5 separate regions of the Homo sapiens genome follow, and all the other regions are linked to region 5. Evidence: promoter capture Hi-C in 16 types of primary human blood cells and fetal thymus (Javierre and others, 2016). All regions are on one chromosome and are shown on one strand. Each heading gives the region's core, a stretch centred on a gene start or on the middle of the fragment in contact. The rest is flanking DNA. Distances are from core to core; before and after follow the strand shown. Region 1 overlaps DHX33 (DEAH-box helicase 33). Region 2 holds the start of C1QBP (complement C1q binding protein). Region 3 overlaps NUP88 (nucleoporin 88). Region 4 overlaps RABEP1 (rabaptin, RAB GTPase binding effector protein 1). Region 5 holds the start of ZFP3 (ZFP3 zinc finger protein).

Region 1 (2,700 bases), core at 52-2,551, 380 kb before region 5:
AAAGGTTTATAATAAAAGAATAGCAGTTGTTTTTACTTCAACATCCCAGATTTCTGCTGTTTAGGGCACCTACTTTCAATCTCTACATATTGCTTTCATGTTTCTAAACTACCTTGCTTTGACCACTATTTTTTGAGTTATGGGTATCAGGCATCATATGCTAATTTCTTACCATGGTGACAAAAGTTTAGAATGCCCCTCCCCAACCCCCTTTATCTCCAACCTCTTGACAGTTCTATCATGTTTTTGTTTAGGTTTTTGTTTTTGAGGCAGGATCTTGCTGTGTTGCCCAGGCTGGTCGTGAACTCCCGGGCTCAATCAGTCCTCCCACCTCAGCATTGGGAGTAGCTAGGACTACATGCTTGCACACCTGTGTCTGGCCTATTATGATGTTTTCTGAGTCCAGTATCAATACTAAGAATATTATGACCACACATTGCTAGTAGCACACCATCATCCCTGTACCTTGTTTCTTGAACAACACAGTTGTGCAAGCTTTCTGGGTAGCTCTGGCTCATTTTCTCCCAAATATTCCAACATCTCATATGCCAGTCGTGTATAGTTCTGTGTTCAAGCACAGTCTGTCTTTTCAGAGTCCTTTATGCTGCTGTTCCAGTTGGGGCAGGTGGCTCTCCTGGGCCTTTGTGCAGCTGTCATCTTGACTCTTCACTTTGTCACCATTTTCCCGTGGTGAGACCCATGGCTTCCCAGTCTCCTGGCCGTCCTGGGTAGGAGAGGGAACTGAAGGCTTTAACTACTCTATACTCAGACTTTGAACCAATCCCTGAGTTTTCACTCTCCCACAACATAATTTGTAGTTTCCTCCCTCTAGCCAAGTCATCCAGCCCCTTTCCCCTCTCTTCCAAAATGAGTTGAGACTCCTCATCTCTCATTGCCTTTTCTTTCTAAGACAGTGGCCTTTACTGTCGTTTTCATAGTGTTTGGGGAAGAAGTCTGCCTTGTTCAGCTGCAGAAAGCAAACGAGAATTTTTCATGAATGATGGCTGCTGGTGCATTAGGTTACCACTGGCTTTGATGAATTCTCCCACTCATGAGGTTTTGACTGTTTTAGATTTTATCCTGTCTGTGTATCCCTCTGCACATTTGTTCTGTTAATACTGGGCTGAAAAAAAATACATATTAAAAAATACGTATTTTTACATATATACATAAATATACATATAATTATTAAAATTTTTTTCTATTTATTTTGCCATTAGGCACTTTTTTTTTTTTTTTTTGAGATGGAGTCTCACTGTGTCGCCCAGGCTGGAGTGCAGTGACACGAGCTCGGCTCACTGCAACCTCTACCTCCCAGGTCCAAGTGATTCTTGTGCCTCAGCCTCCTGAGTATCTGGGATCACACCTAGCTAACTTTTGTATTTTTAATAGAGATGGGATTTCACTGTGTTGGACAGGCTGGTCTCAAACTGCTGACCTCAACCCATTTGCCTGCCTCAGCCTCCCAAAGTGCTGGGGTTACAGGCATGAGCCACTGCGCCCAGTCCATCAAGCACTTCATTTTATTTATTTATTTTTTGAGATGGAGTCTTGCTCTGTCGCCCAGGTTGGAGTGCAGTGATGCAATCTCGGCTCACTGCAACCTCCGCCTCCCATGTTCAAGTGATTCTCCTGCCTCAGCCTCCTGAGTAGCTGGGATTACAGGCGTGCGCCACCACGCCTGGCTAATTTTTTGTATTTTTAGTAGAGACAGGGTTTCACCATGTTGGTCAAGCTGGTCTCGAACTCCTGACCTCAGGTGATCTGGCCGCCTCGGCCTCCCAAAGTGTTAAGCACTTTACATCAAACAAATTAATGTATCTGATCAGAAATCAAAGAAAAATCAGGGCATTAGGTATGTCATTCACACTTGGGTGTTGTTCCATTTGAAAGTGAGGAACCCCATTAACCTCAGTATCTCAAGCAGTTGTCCGAGTATAGTGTGTGTTTTGGGGCGTGTGAAAGCGCTTTCGACGGCGTCATTCATTAAAGGCTCCTTCTCCAGCATGGCTGCGCCTGTTCATTTCCATAGATTAGGATTTCCCCAAGTTTCCTTCTGTTTTGTCAACTTCATTTTTCAAGATGCTTATAAAAGAAAGGAAGCTTCATGCAGATTTTATTTGCTTGCCTGATTATGCTTTTCATGGTATTGTTCTTGTTAGAAAAATCAATCTGATGATTTCCCTTCAAAATTTCATCACTTGGCCTATAAACATAGCTGGCTAACTCCTATATATTACAGTTTTGTTTTTTGTGTTTTTGAGTCAGGTTCTCGTTCTGTCGCCCAGGCTGGAGTGGAGTGGCAAGCAGCTGGAACTATAGGCATGTGTCACCACCCCTGACCAATTTAAAAAAAAGTGTTTTGTAGAGATGGGATCTTGCTGCGTTGCCCAGGCTGGTCACAAACTCCTGGCTGCAAACGATCCTCCCGCCTCAGCCTCCCAAAGTGCTGGGTTTACAGGCGTGAGCCATCACACCCAGCCTGTTACCATTTACACACTGCTGGTAAGGGTTCTCTCCAAGCTAGACATCAACTTTTAGGCTCATTTACATTTCTATAGTTAAGAGAAATAACTCTGGGAAACATCATCAATCACCATTGTCTTTTTCTGTGCAAGCTGCAATTCTATCAATGCCTAGTAAACCCACTCTACTTTTTTTACAGGAAGCCCCTTCTTCACAGGACATCCTGGTGTTCCT
Region 2 (2,700 bases), core at 105-2,604, 360 kb before region 5:
TCTGGACTTATCTAAATGATATAAGCTGGCTTCTTGTCCCCAGAAAAATGATGTTCCATTAGAACTTGGATGCAAGGTTGGAGGTGCAGAGAGGGAAGGTCACAAAAATTAATCATGGATCCTGCCCTTGAGGATGTCACAGTCTGGTTGGGTTTAACCTGGTTAAAGCAGCAACGCTAGGAGGTTCCTGTTGAAAAGAGAATGAAGCATATGGGCTGGGTGCGCACAAGCATGAGTTCCGAGCCGGTGGAAAAAAAGGTTCTAGAAGGCCTCTTTCAGGAAAACCCTCAGACTTTCCTTTGCTCTCACAACACAACAATCAACACAGAAGACTTATGTGGCCAAAGGTTTGGGTTTTTCCCCTCCACACTAAGCAGCAGACACCAGCTGGGTGTCCTCCAATTCAATCCCAACAGTATCTACCTGGAGATAGTGTCAGATCCCATAGGTTGAGGGCTCAGTCCCCAAGACCGCCCCCACCTTCAGACAGCAATGGCAAGTCTGGGCCTCTGAAACTTCCGACCAACCCGCTTCAAGTTGGGGTTCCCACGACCCCCCTCTTTGGATTATGTTAACTCACTGGAGCAGTTCACAGAACTCAGGGAAACACATTCACCGGTTTCATATAAAGGATATGACCAAGGATACAGATGAGATGAGCAGGGTGGGGAATGGGGAAGAAGCTCCGAGGTTCCTTGCCTACCCTGGGCCACCACCCTCCAGGAACCTCTACGTATTCAGCTGTCAGAGGCTCTGCAAACCCTCTCCTCTTGGGTTTTTATGGAAGCTTCTGGACATCAGCATCCCTTCCCCCAGGGTATATGGTGGGACCTTCTCTGGGAAGGGACTTAAGACCCATAATCAGAAATGTGGAAGGAGATTAGAGTCCTGCTTTGGGGCAGGTAAAAGGAGGGCAGGAGAAGGGGAGAGTCTGTTTCCTGAGGCCTAACACACCCAACATTATCACAGAACATTGTAACAAGGGCTATAGGAGTTACGACCCAGGAACTGTGGATGAAAACCAATACATATATATATCATAACACCACAGCCTCCTAGAGGAAAGTGACCGTGGAAGGGTCTGGTGAGAGCTGGCGGGAGACAAGAGTGCATTCCACGCAGCCCAAAAGCCTTGCGTGCTTTGAGAACAGCAGGTGGAAAGTGGGTAAGCGGCCACTAGAGGGAATTAAACAGCTTCGGACAGCGGACTCGGCAGCGCAGCAAGAAAGCTCCGGAATCCGGATTCGAGGCTTCCCGGGCTGCACCGGAGTCTCCAGCAGAGGGCGCGATTCCGCCCGCTGGCCTTAGGTCGTCAGAGCGCCGGCGCGGGAAGCGCTTCCGGGCAGGGGCGGGGCTTCCGGCGGCGCCTCAGGTCGCGGGGCGCCTAGGCCTGGGTTGTCCTTTGCATCTGCACGTGTTCGCAGTCGTTTCCGCGATGCTGCCTCTGCTGCGCTGCGTGCCCCGTGTGCTGGGCTCCTCCGTCGCCGGCCTCCGCGCTGCCGCGCCCGCCTCGCCTTTCCGGCAGCTCCTGCAGCCGGCACCCCGGCTGTGCACCCGGCCCTTCGGGCTGCTCAGCGTGCGCGCAGGTTCCGAGCGGCGGCCGGGCCTCCTGCGGCCTCGCGGACCCTGCGCCTGTGGCTGTGGCTGCGGCTCGCTGCACACCGACGGTGAGGTTTAGCGGGCCGGGGGTGTGGTTTGCGTTCAACAGAGGGAAAACGTAGACCAGGAATAGGGCCTGCAACCGACCTCTGAGGTCTGGGACATTTTTCCATTGATTGGCAACCAGCGGGCTAAACCCACGTATGATCATATTTCCCCCACCTCCCCTATCCAGCAGTTTCGTTTTCTTTTGGTAGGGGGTGAATAAAATTAAATACTAGGGTACCTTTTTCCTTAGTCTTATTCTATCGAAAGTGGACCTTTGGGAAGGCCCATGGTCGTGGTTGAAAATAGCATAGTTATATCGTTTGGCAAGTGGAAGAGGATTGGAAATTCTCCTGGTTTATAGCGGAAAGTGGTAATGCGTTCATTGTTGGAAATCACTTTTCCAGAATCAGGCTCAGCTTCCTACTACTATTATGGTATTTTTACCGATAAGGAAACAGGCTTCTAGAGTAACCGTAATAGCAGAGAGATTAGAAACAGTCCAGGTTTCTGGCTGCAATAACCTGGGTAATAGTTTTATGTTTTAGACTAACTGGCTTTCCTTTTTATGTATCTGGATTTCTTTTCTAGGAGACAAAGCTTTTGTTGATTTCCTGAGTGATGAAATTAAGGAGGAAAGAAAAATTCAGAAGCATAAAACCCTCCCTAAGATGTCTGGAGGTTGGGAGCTGGAACTGAATGGGACAGAAGCGAAATTAGTGCGGAAAGTTGCCGGGGAAAAGTAAGTACTGGTCTGGGGATCCCAGGGCAGCAACTCCCTTAACCTTGCAGGACCCATCCTGGGTCATCCCCAGAAGAGCCTTGAGTTCAGGTGTGGATACTTTGATAAATGGGTTTCAAGAGAGTGAAGGATTCATTTGGACAACTTCGTAAGCCCCAGGCAGTCCATTCACCGAACACAAATTTGCTGTGGGCTGGTTACTAAGGAGACAAAAATGTAGTGCAAAAAAGTACTGGCAGAATCAGTTTGATCTCTGATTTACAGCCCTGATAAAATAGGACACTGCTCTCTAATGTTTAGTATGGGTGAAAATG
Region 3 (2,700 bases), core at 187-2,686, 330 kb before region 5:
GGAAGTGACAGAGGTGCGATGTTATGGAATAGGCTGTTAAAGGGTATTGGTAAGGATAGAGAACATTTCTTCAGGCCCCAATGAAACTCCCTTATGTAGTTAAAGAATAAATGAACTAGACTACTTTGCAACAGCAAGATTTTTGCAAAGAAATAGTTGTGATAAGTGTTAGAAAATTCTCAAGAACTGACTAGATGGAGAGGAAAGTGCAGTTTTGGGAAATGAAAACAGAATTTTAAGTGCTGGTTTTCTTCTCTTTTGGTTGCTAGAATTTACTCACTACGTGAGCCGCAGACACCCACTAACGTGATAATACTTTCAGAAGCCGAAGAGGAAAGTCTAGTACTCAATAAAGGGTAAGTTTTTATTTGAGTCTTGAAATGGTTTTTTAATTAGCTTATTGGGATTATAAATGCAATTTTAACAGGTTGCAAGGTTTTTCAGAGGTGACTAGCATGCTTTTGGTAATGTGAGAAGTAAGTGTATTTTTAGTAGAACAGGGATTCGTCGTGTTGGCCAGGCTGGTCTGGAACTCCTAGGCTCAAGTGATCCTGCTCGTCTCAGCCTCCCCAAAGTGCTGGAATTACAGGCCTGAGCCACCATTCATTTCTTTATCACCTTTCTATGTGATAAAGAAACTAAGATAATATCTTGCATTGATGTTTGCTCTCTCAACTATATGAAATTGTGATTTCATTTTAACCATATTTGTTAACTTTGTATTGAACTAGAATCTTCCTGAATAACTACAGTAAATTTTAAATATAAAAACAGCATGGTTTTATGATTTGCCTTCTTGATATACATGTAATGTATATTTGCTGTAGAAAATTGAGAAAAATAGATCAAAGTATTAGGAAGAAAATGAAAATCTTTGTAATCTCCTATAGCTATAGCCTGTTTCAATACAGCACCCAAAGTTTAATCACATCATTCTACTTTAATCTAAGTTTAATCAGATCAGTTTAATCAGATCATTCTACTTCCCTGCTCTCCATACCCCATTGATTTCCCAGAGTCTTTACCTATAAAGGGTCCACAGGTATGCCACCTGATTGCCTTTCCAGCTTCATTCCTCCCTCTGTGCCCTGGCTCTCTGGGCTCCAGGCACCTTGGCCTCCTTGCCATTCCACAGACATTAAGCACTTCTACCTTAGAGCATTTGCTCTCCACCTCAACTGCTCCTTCCCTAGTTAACCACAGACTTGCTCTCTTACTTCCTTCAGATCTTTGCTCAAATATCTTATCAGAGTCTTTCCTATACCAAGTAGTCTAAAGTAGCACCTCCATCAATACCCTCTTACCCTACTTTATTTTTCATGATATTTTCTGAGTTTATGTTCCATCTTTATTTCTTCTCTTTTTGTGGTATTTCTCTCTCTAGAGGGCAGGACATTTGTTTAATTCACTGACATATTCCCAGACCCTAGAAAAGTACCTGGCACAGAGTAGGTGCTTTGCGAGTATTTGTAGAACTTACGGATCCTGCTGCTCAGAGACAACTGTTGATGTTTTCATGTGTTTTCCTGTTTCCTTTTTGCATTTATGTGTGTGTATATAATAAATTTTTGCTATTTGTATATCTGTGTATTTAAACTATTTAAGATGAGAGTAGAACCAAATAATTTTATGGCCAGCTTTTTTCACTTAATTTCATGAGAATTTTTTTTTTTTTTTTTTTTTTGAGACGGAGTTTCGCTCTTGTCGCCCAGGCTGGAGTGCAATGGCACAATCTCGGCTCACTGCAACCTCCGCCTCCCAGGTTCAAGCAATTCTCCTGCCTTAGCCTCCCAAGTAGCTGGGACTACAGGCACCTGCCACCACGCCCAACTAATTTTTGTATTTTTAGTAGAAACGGGGTTTCACCATGTTGGCCAGGCTGGTCTCGAACTCCTGACCTCAGGTGATCCACCCACCTCGGCCTCCCAAATTGCTGGGATTACAGGCATGAGCCACTGCACCCAGCTGAGAATTTTTAAATGTTAACATTCTTCATAATCATTTTTTGTCTTTTCAGTCCATTGCCTACAAATTCCATACATACCCACCTCCTGTTATTAGACATTTTGTGTTTTTGTTTTGTTTTGTTTTTCTTTTTACTTTTTGTTGTTTTTGTTTTTAACAAGTTGGTTTTTACATCTCTTTCCAGAAGGGCGTATACCGCATCTCTAGGAGAGACAGCAGTTGCATTTGACTTTGGGCCATTGGCAGCAGTCCCAAAGACTCTATTTGGACAAAACGGCAAAGATGAAGTAGTGGCATACCCACTGTACATCTTATATGAAAATGGAGAGACTTTCCTGACATACATCAGTCTGTTACACAGGTAAGTTGAGGTGGTCACCCACCTGAAATGAAAACTCAGTTTGGGCTCCAGTAGATATCATTGAGGCTGGACTTGGGAGCCATGTTTTTGAGTCTGTGGAAATGTTGCAGCCTTCACATGCTTGGCTTGCATATTTTTGAGAAAGAGTTAGTACAGGTCATTTGGCCTTTCATTTCTTCATATTATTTGGGTAAGTTCTATAGAATTCTTGGATAATCACTTATGATAGGCCTGGATTTGTGTTCACAAATTCTAGTTATCCGAACAAGTGCTTATTGTTTATCTTATATGAACAAGACACCACGTAGGCGTGGTAATCTGGTATCTTATGTCCCAGTTGTGGGGAGAAAGATACATACACATGAAAAAATACT
Region 4 (2,700 bases), core at 1-2,500, 280 kb before region 5:
GTGAGCAAGAGGAAAAACGTGAGAAAGGTAACTCACCTCTTTCTGCAAGAGATTCCATTCTGTTTCACTAACTAAACGATAACCACTAGGGGACACATAGGCACTCTCCATGCCCTGGGTAACGCTGGAGAGGAGGGACGCTGTCTCTTCTTGTTCTGGTGTCATCGCCTTGATTGCTCTTTCCTGATCTTTGGTTAACATAAACCCACTTGGCATCTGGAGTGACCCAAGGGATGCAGTATCAAAGTTCTCAGACACTGAATCTGCTCCTACCAGTGGTCCAAAATCTGACTCGTCCAGGTTTCCAGCAGATTTTGCTTTGTAGTTATAGCCTAAAGCTTTGGATTGCAATGAGCCCGAGGTTCCCAAGCTGTCTGTAGACTGTGCTCTCCTGAGTCCATCTTTAAACATGTCATTGTCCGATTTACTGAAAGGATCTCCAGATGGCAACAGCAAGCCTGCATCTAAGGAATGAACTGAGCCACGGGTGCTGTCTAAATGCTCCTGAAATGTGAAAATACATATGGCCAAGTTAGACAATTCTCTGCGTTTTTAAAGACAAAAACTATAATAAATGTATTCCGCCACTCATTACACATGATAATCATTAATGTGCTACCTTCACAGACTCATTGAACAAACACTAAGTGTCATTTCTACATGCTGGACACAAAACCAGGCCCTCAGGATACAACTGTGAGCAAGATATAATCCCTGACCTCGAGATACATACGGCTTCAAAAAAAAAAAAGATAAGTAAGCAGACTGTTATAATACTGTGATAAAAGGATGGGCTGGAGCTATGTGCTGAATGCTCTGGTAGCTCAAAGAGCTCCCAAATACGAACAGTTGAGGAACGTCACCTGCAATTCAGTGTGGCGTGTGTCAAGCGCGAGGTGCCTATCATGAATCCAAGCAGAGATATTCCCTTGACAGAGGGACACAGAAGTCTTTCGATAGAGACTTGAGAGTAACTATCGTATAATGATAATTAAAGTCACAGCAGCAAATCAGAACACGTAGGATGAGTGTGTAGGCAAAGAGGGCCAAGGGCAGAACCCTGAGAAAGATTAACATCTTGGGGATGAGCAAAGGAGAAGCCAGAGTAGTGGAAAGGAAATGACGAGAACGTAGTATTTTCTTTTTTTCTGAGACGGAGTCTCGCTCTGTCGCCCAGGCTGGAGTGCAGTGGCGCGATCTCCGCTCACTGCAAGCTCCGCCTCCCGGGCTCACGCCATTCTCCTGCCTCAGCCTCCCAAGTAGCTGGGACTACAGGTGCCCGCCACCTCGCCCGGCTAATGTTTTCTATTTTTAGTAGAGATGGGGTTTCACCATGTTGGCCAGGATGGTCTCGCTCTCCTGACCTCGTGATCCCCCGACCTCAGCCTCCCAAAGTGCTGGGATTACAGGCGTGAGCCACCGCACCCGGCCCAAGAATGTGGTATTTTCCAGCAAGGTGTAATCAACATGTTCAATGTTGTATACTATGCGAAAGCAGATGCAAAAAGTCACATATTATGTAATTCCATCTATTTAAAATGTCCAGAACAAGTAAATCCATAGAGCCATAAAGCAAGTTAGTGGTTACTAGAGGCTAGGGCAAAGGGAAAATGGCGAGTGACTCTAATGGGTTATGAGGTCTCCTTTGGGAGTGATAAAAATGTTTTCAAACTAAAAACATTTGTGTATATATGCAATGCCACTGAATTGTACACTTTAAATTTTATGTTACATGAATTTTATCTCAATTTTTAAACAACGTGGTACAGCACATTCCTGAAGGCAAAAAGCAAACCAGTGCCATTACATGAAGCAGTTGCATAGTTAGTGGGAAATAAGAAAAATGATTTAAAGAAAAATGTAACAAGTTTTCCTTCCAACTAAATTTATTCCATTTAAATGACAATGTTTTAAGATAATATCCTTTCTACGTTTTGTTGTTAAACGCCCTGTTTTAAATGAACCAGAGGAGACTGTGGAATACAGTTGTTGTTACTGGCAAGCTCATGTAACCTATTTTTTTTAATGTTTTAAAAATATTCTTGGTGTAATAAAAAGGTGACAAATTTTGAGTTAATGCCTCCATTTCTTTCCTTTTAAAGATTGTTACTCATCTGAAACTGCAATGGCTAAGAACACAAATCTCGTATATATTAAGCTTACTATGGCAAAGATCCCAAGTAAGTATCCTAATAAAAACTGGGATAAGCCATTCTGTTAGTTTACAAATAACCCTAACACCCACTGCTATGTATCATATACAGTGCTGCTGTGATACTGAAGAGGGAAGGGGCTAGGGATAGAACAGTTGTGAGGGCCATTTGAAAAACATCAGACTGGCTGGGCGCAGTGGCTCACACCCGTAATCCCAGCACTTTGGGAGGCCGAGGCGGGCAGATCACAAGGTCAGGAGATCAAGACCATTCTGGCTAGCATGGTGAAACCCCGTCTCTATTAAAAATTACAAAAAATTAGCCAGGCGTGGTGGCAGGTGCCTGTAGTCCCAGCTACTTGGGAGGCTGAGGAAGGAGAATGGCGTGAACCCGGGAGGCGGAGCTTGCAGTGAGCCGAGATCACACCACTGCACTCCAGCCTGGGCAACAGAGCGAGACTCCGTCTCAAAAAAAAAAAAAGAAAACATCAGACTACAGGCCTGGCGCAGTAGCTCACGCCTGTAAATCCAACACTTTGGGAGGCTGA
Region 5 (2,700 bases), core at 183-2,682:
CCTGGCTAATTTTGTATTTCTAGTAGAGACAGGGTTTCACCATGTTGGCCAGGCTGGTCTCGAGCTCCTGACCTCAGGTGATCCGCCCACCTTTGCCTCCCAAAGTGCTGGGATTACAGGCATGAGCCATCACGCCCAGCTGACCCCCTCCATTTTCTTCCCTGACCCCCAGGCTCTAAGGCAGACAGCTACTCCTTCACCTTGTAGCAGCTACCCCACTGCATTATTAATTTTTCATACCTATTTTCTTCTCTAGACCATAAGCAAGGATGCTGTTCCATTCATCCTGGTATTCTGAGTACCTAGCATATTTCAGATACCTGGTAAATGTTAAGTGAATTTGTGTAACTGTCTTATATATATAATGAATCTGCAATACCTCCCTTTTTTCTGAGACAGGGTCTTGGCTCTATTGCCCAGACTCACTGCAGCTTCAACTTCCCAGGCTCAAGAAAATCCTCCCACCTCAGCCTCCCAAGTAGCTGGGACTACAAGCATGCGCCACCACACCCAACTACCCAACTAATTTCTTTGTTTTTTGTACAGATGGTGTCTCACTATGTTGCCCAGGCTGGTCTTGAACTCCTGTGCTCAAGTGATCCTCCCGCCTAGGCCTCCCAAAATGCTGGGATTACAGGCATGAGCCACTGCACCCAGCCTCTGTAATACTCTTGATGGCTAACTGGATATTTCATTCATCATTATATCTAAAGAGCCTAGGATAGTGTCTGACACATAGCTGGTGTCGATAACTGTTTGTAAAAATAAGTTCCTTTTCCCAATCTGGGTGATATTTAATTTATGGCACTGTTAACCTCCTTTCCTCTCTTCTCCCTCTGACCCACAATAGGGCTCTATCTTTGCAGCTCAAACCTGTCTCCTTTTCACGACCACCCCTCATAAGCCAATATCTTGTCTGGCAGCACAGGGCACAATCTGCCACTAGGGCGTTAAGTTTGTGACACTGCCCGCCATTTCGTCCTAGCGGTTTACTTGGGGGTGGAATGTCTGAGAAAACCACAGCTCCCACGGGTCCCCACCTCGGTACAGAAGGGAGTGTCCCTGCTTCTCCCACCCCCACGGCTGACAGGCACCAAACCAGAGCTGGGACTGTCCCTGGCGGTGTCCAGGCCCCACCCTCTCTGTGTGCAGGTGGAAATGAAGGCCTGGGGGCGGGGGGAATGGAGGGAGGCATAAACTTCAAGGTCACACAGCGAACCCCGGTCAGAACGGGCCTAAACGTAGGGTTTCCGCTCGGCTCTCTAGGGAGCTGGGAGCCCAGCCCCCGCCTACCCCCACAGCCGCGACGGAATGAGGTCTCACCGCAGGCCGCTACTGCCCCGCGCTCGCTCACTCCGCTGAGGCTCCGCGCTGCTGGGCCGCTCGCACAGAGCCCGCAGCTGTTGTCCCGGTGTCACTGGCGACGGGCATCGGCCACTTCCGGTACCCGGGCGGCACTCCAGCCAATCGGCGCGCGTCGCACTCCGCTGGAGGAACAGGTGGTCAGCGCACCGACGCCCCCTTGCCTTTTCCGGCTTGCTTTTCGCCGGTTCTAGCCCTAGCCCAAGTTCCACGTCGCCGCCGCCTGCCGAGCCGGCTCCCTGGAACAGCAAAGTGCACCCGTCGATGCCCACTTCAGCCCCGGAATCATTGACGACCTGAGTCCTCCGGGTTTCCTAGAACGGCTCCGGGGATGAACTTCCGCTCCGCGATCTGCCGCTCTGCGCCCTCGTGTCGCTCCCCAAGCATTGCTCTAGGCTCAAGAACTCGAGAATCCGCTTCGCATTCCCGCGGGGACCGTTTGCGCGACCCTTTTAACTCTCCCAACCCGCATCGTTCTTATCCCATCCTTCCTTTCCACAGACTCCGTGGGTCTGATAAGCACAGGGCTGCAGATCCTGGGAACAGGTCTCTCCTCGGCGGGAGCGAAGGGAGACATGCTTTGAGTTCCGGAAGGGCTTGCAGGAGTGACGTTTGGCCTGAAATCTCAAGATTGCGTGGGAATTACCAAGGTTAAGAGTAAAGGCCTAGGTTAAGCTGCCGAGGCCACGGAAACAGCATTCTGCAGCTAGCCTTCCTGGGTTCCCTGAGCAAGCTTGGCCCATTCTCACCTCAGAACCTTTCCTTGTTACTTCCTCTGTAATTTTGCACAGCCAGCTTGTTTTCTTGTTTGTTTGTTTTTTGAGATGGAGTTTCGCTCTTGTTGTCCAGGCTGGAGTGCGATGGCGCCATCTCCGCTCACCGCAACCTCCGCCTCCCGGATTCAAGCGATTCTCCTACTTCAGCCTCCCCGAGTAACTGGGATTACAAGCATGTGCCACCACGCCCGGCTAATTTTGTATTTTAGGTAGAGACGGGTTTTCTCCATTTTGGTCAGGCTGGTCTCGAACTCCCGACCTCAGGTGATCCGGCCGCCTCGGCCTCCCAAAGTGCTGGGATTACAGACATGAGCCACCGCGCCCGGCCTCCAGCTTGTTTTTGTTTGTTTTTTGAGGCGGAGTTTCGCTCTTGTCGCCAAGGCTGGAGTGCAATGGCACGATCTCTGCTCACTGCAACCTCCACCTCCCGGGTTCAAGCGATTCTCCAGCCTCAGCCTCCAGAGTAGCTGGGATTACAAGTGCCAGCCACCACGCCCGGCTAATTTTTGTATTTTTAGTAGAGACGGGGTTTCACCATGTTGGTCAGGCTGGTCTCGAACTT

Evidence for each region. Contacts are between HindIII fragments. The CHiCAGO score rates a contact against its expected background, and 5 or more counts as called.
Region 1: a contact is called between a fragment that was not itself captured here and the fragment with the promoter of ZFP3 in region 5, in 2 of 17 cell types (total B cells and naive B cells). The highest score is 6.7, in total B cells.
Region 2: the fragment with the promoter of C1QBP here is called in contact with the fragment with the promoter of ZFP3 in region 5 in 1 of 17 cell types (naive B cells); the score reaches 5.6 in naive B cells.
Region 3: a fragment that was not itself captured here is called in contact with the fragment with the promoter of ZFP3 in region 5 in 1 of 17 cell types (naive B cells); the score reaches 5.5 in naive B cells.
Region 4: a fragment that was not itself captured here is called in contact with the fragment with the promoter of ZFP3 in region 5 in 2 of 17 cell types (total B cells and naive B cells); the score reaches 6.7 in total B cells.

Annotation. Positions count from the first base shown.
Region 1 is chr17:5,456,148-5,458,847 of GRCh38, reverse strand. It overlaps DHX33 (DEAH-box helicase 33), which reads left to right. Exons shown (of 12, transcript NM_020162.4): 5 at 2,666-2,700. Among named protein-coding and RNA genes, the nearest start is that of DHX33, 11 kb to the left of the region's middle. The HindIII fragment of the contact is 1,608 bases long and covers 498-2,105 here.
Region 2 is chr17:5,437,809-5,440,508 of GRCh38, reverse strand. C1QBP (complement C1q binding protein) reads left to right here and starts at 1,354. Exons shown (of 6, transcript NM_001212.4): 1 at 1,354-1,667; 2 at 2,236-2,386. The coding sequence starts at 1,436. RefSeq lists an enhancer at 958-1,137 and silencers at 1,197-1,379, 1,358-1,527, 1,638-1,687. The HindIII fragment of the contact is 1,457 bases long and covers 790-2,246 here.
Region 3 is chr17:5,408,359-5,411,058 of GRCh38, reverse strand. NUP88 (nucleoporin 88) reads left to right here. Exons shown (of 17, transcript NM_002532.6): 4 at 270-356; 5 at 2,150-2,326. Among named protein-coding and RNA genes, the nearest start is that of NUP88, 10 kb to the left of the region's middle. The HindIII fragment of the contact is 2,979 bases long and covers 1-2,700 here.
Region 4 is chr17:5,359,012-5,361,711 of GRCh38, reverse strand. RABEP1 (rabaptin, RAB GTPase binding effector protein 1) reads right to left here. Exons shown (of 18, transcript NM_004703.6): 9 at 37-504. LOC105371505 (a long non-coding RNA gene) reads left to right here. Exons shown (of 2, transcript XR_934178.3): 1 at 1-27; 2 at 628-1,105. Among named protein-coding and RNA genes, the nearest start is that of NUP88, 59 kb to the left of the region's middle. The HindIII fragment of the contact is 1,820 bases long and covers 341-2,160 here.
Region 5 is chr17:5,077,199-5,079,898 of GRCh38, reverse strand. ZFP3 (ZFP3 zinc finger protein) reads right to left here and starts at 1,432. Exons shown (of 2, transcript NM_153018.3): 1 at 1,324-1,432. It overlaps ZFP3-DT (ZFP3 divergent transcript), which reads left to right and starts at 1,786. Exons shown (of 2, transcript NR_186458.1): 1 at 1,786-2,012. RefSeq lists enhancers at 1,656-1,725, 1,093-1,964. The HindIII fragment of the contact is 11,376 bases long and covers 1-2,097 here.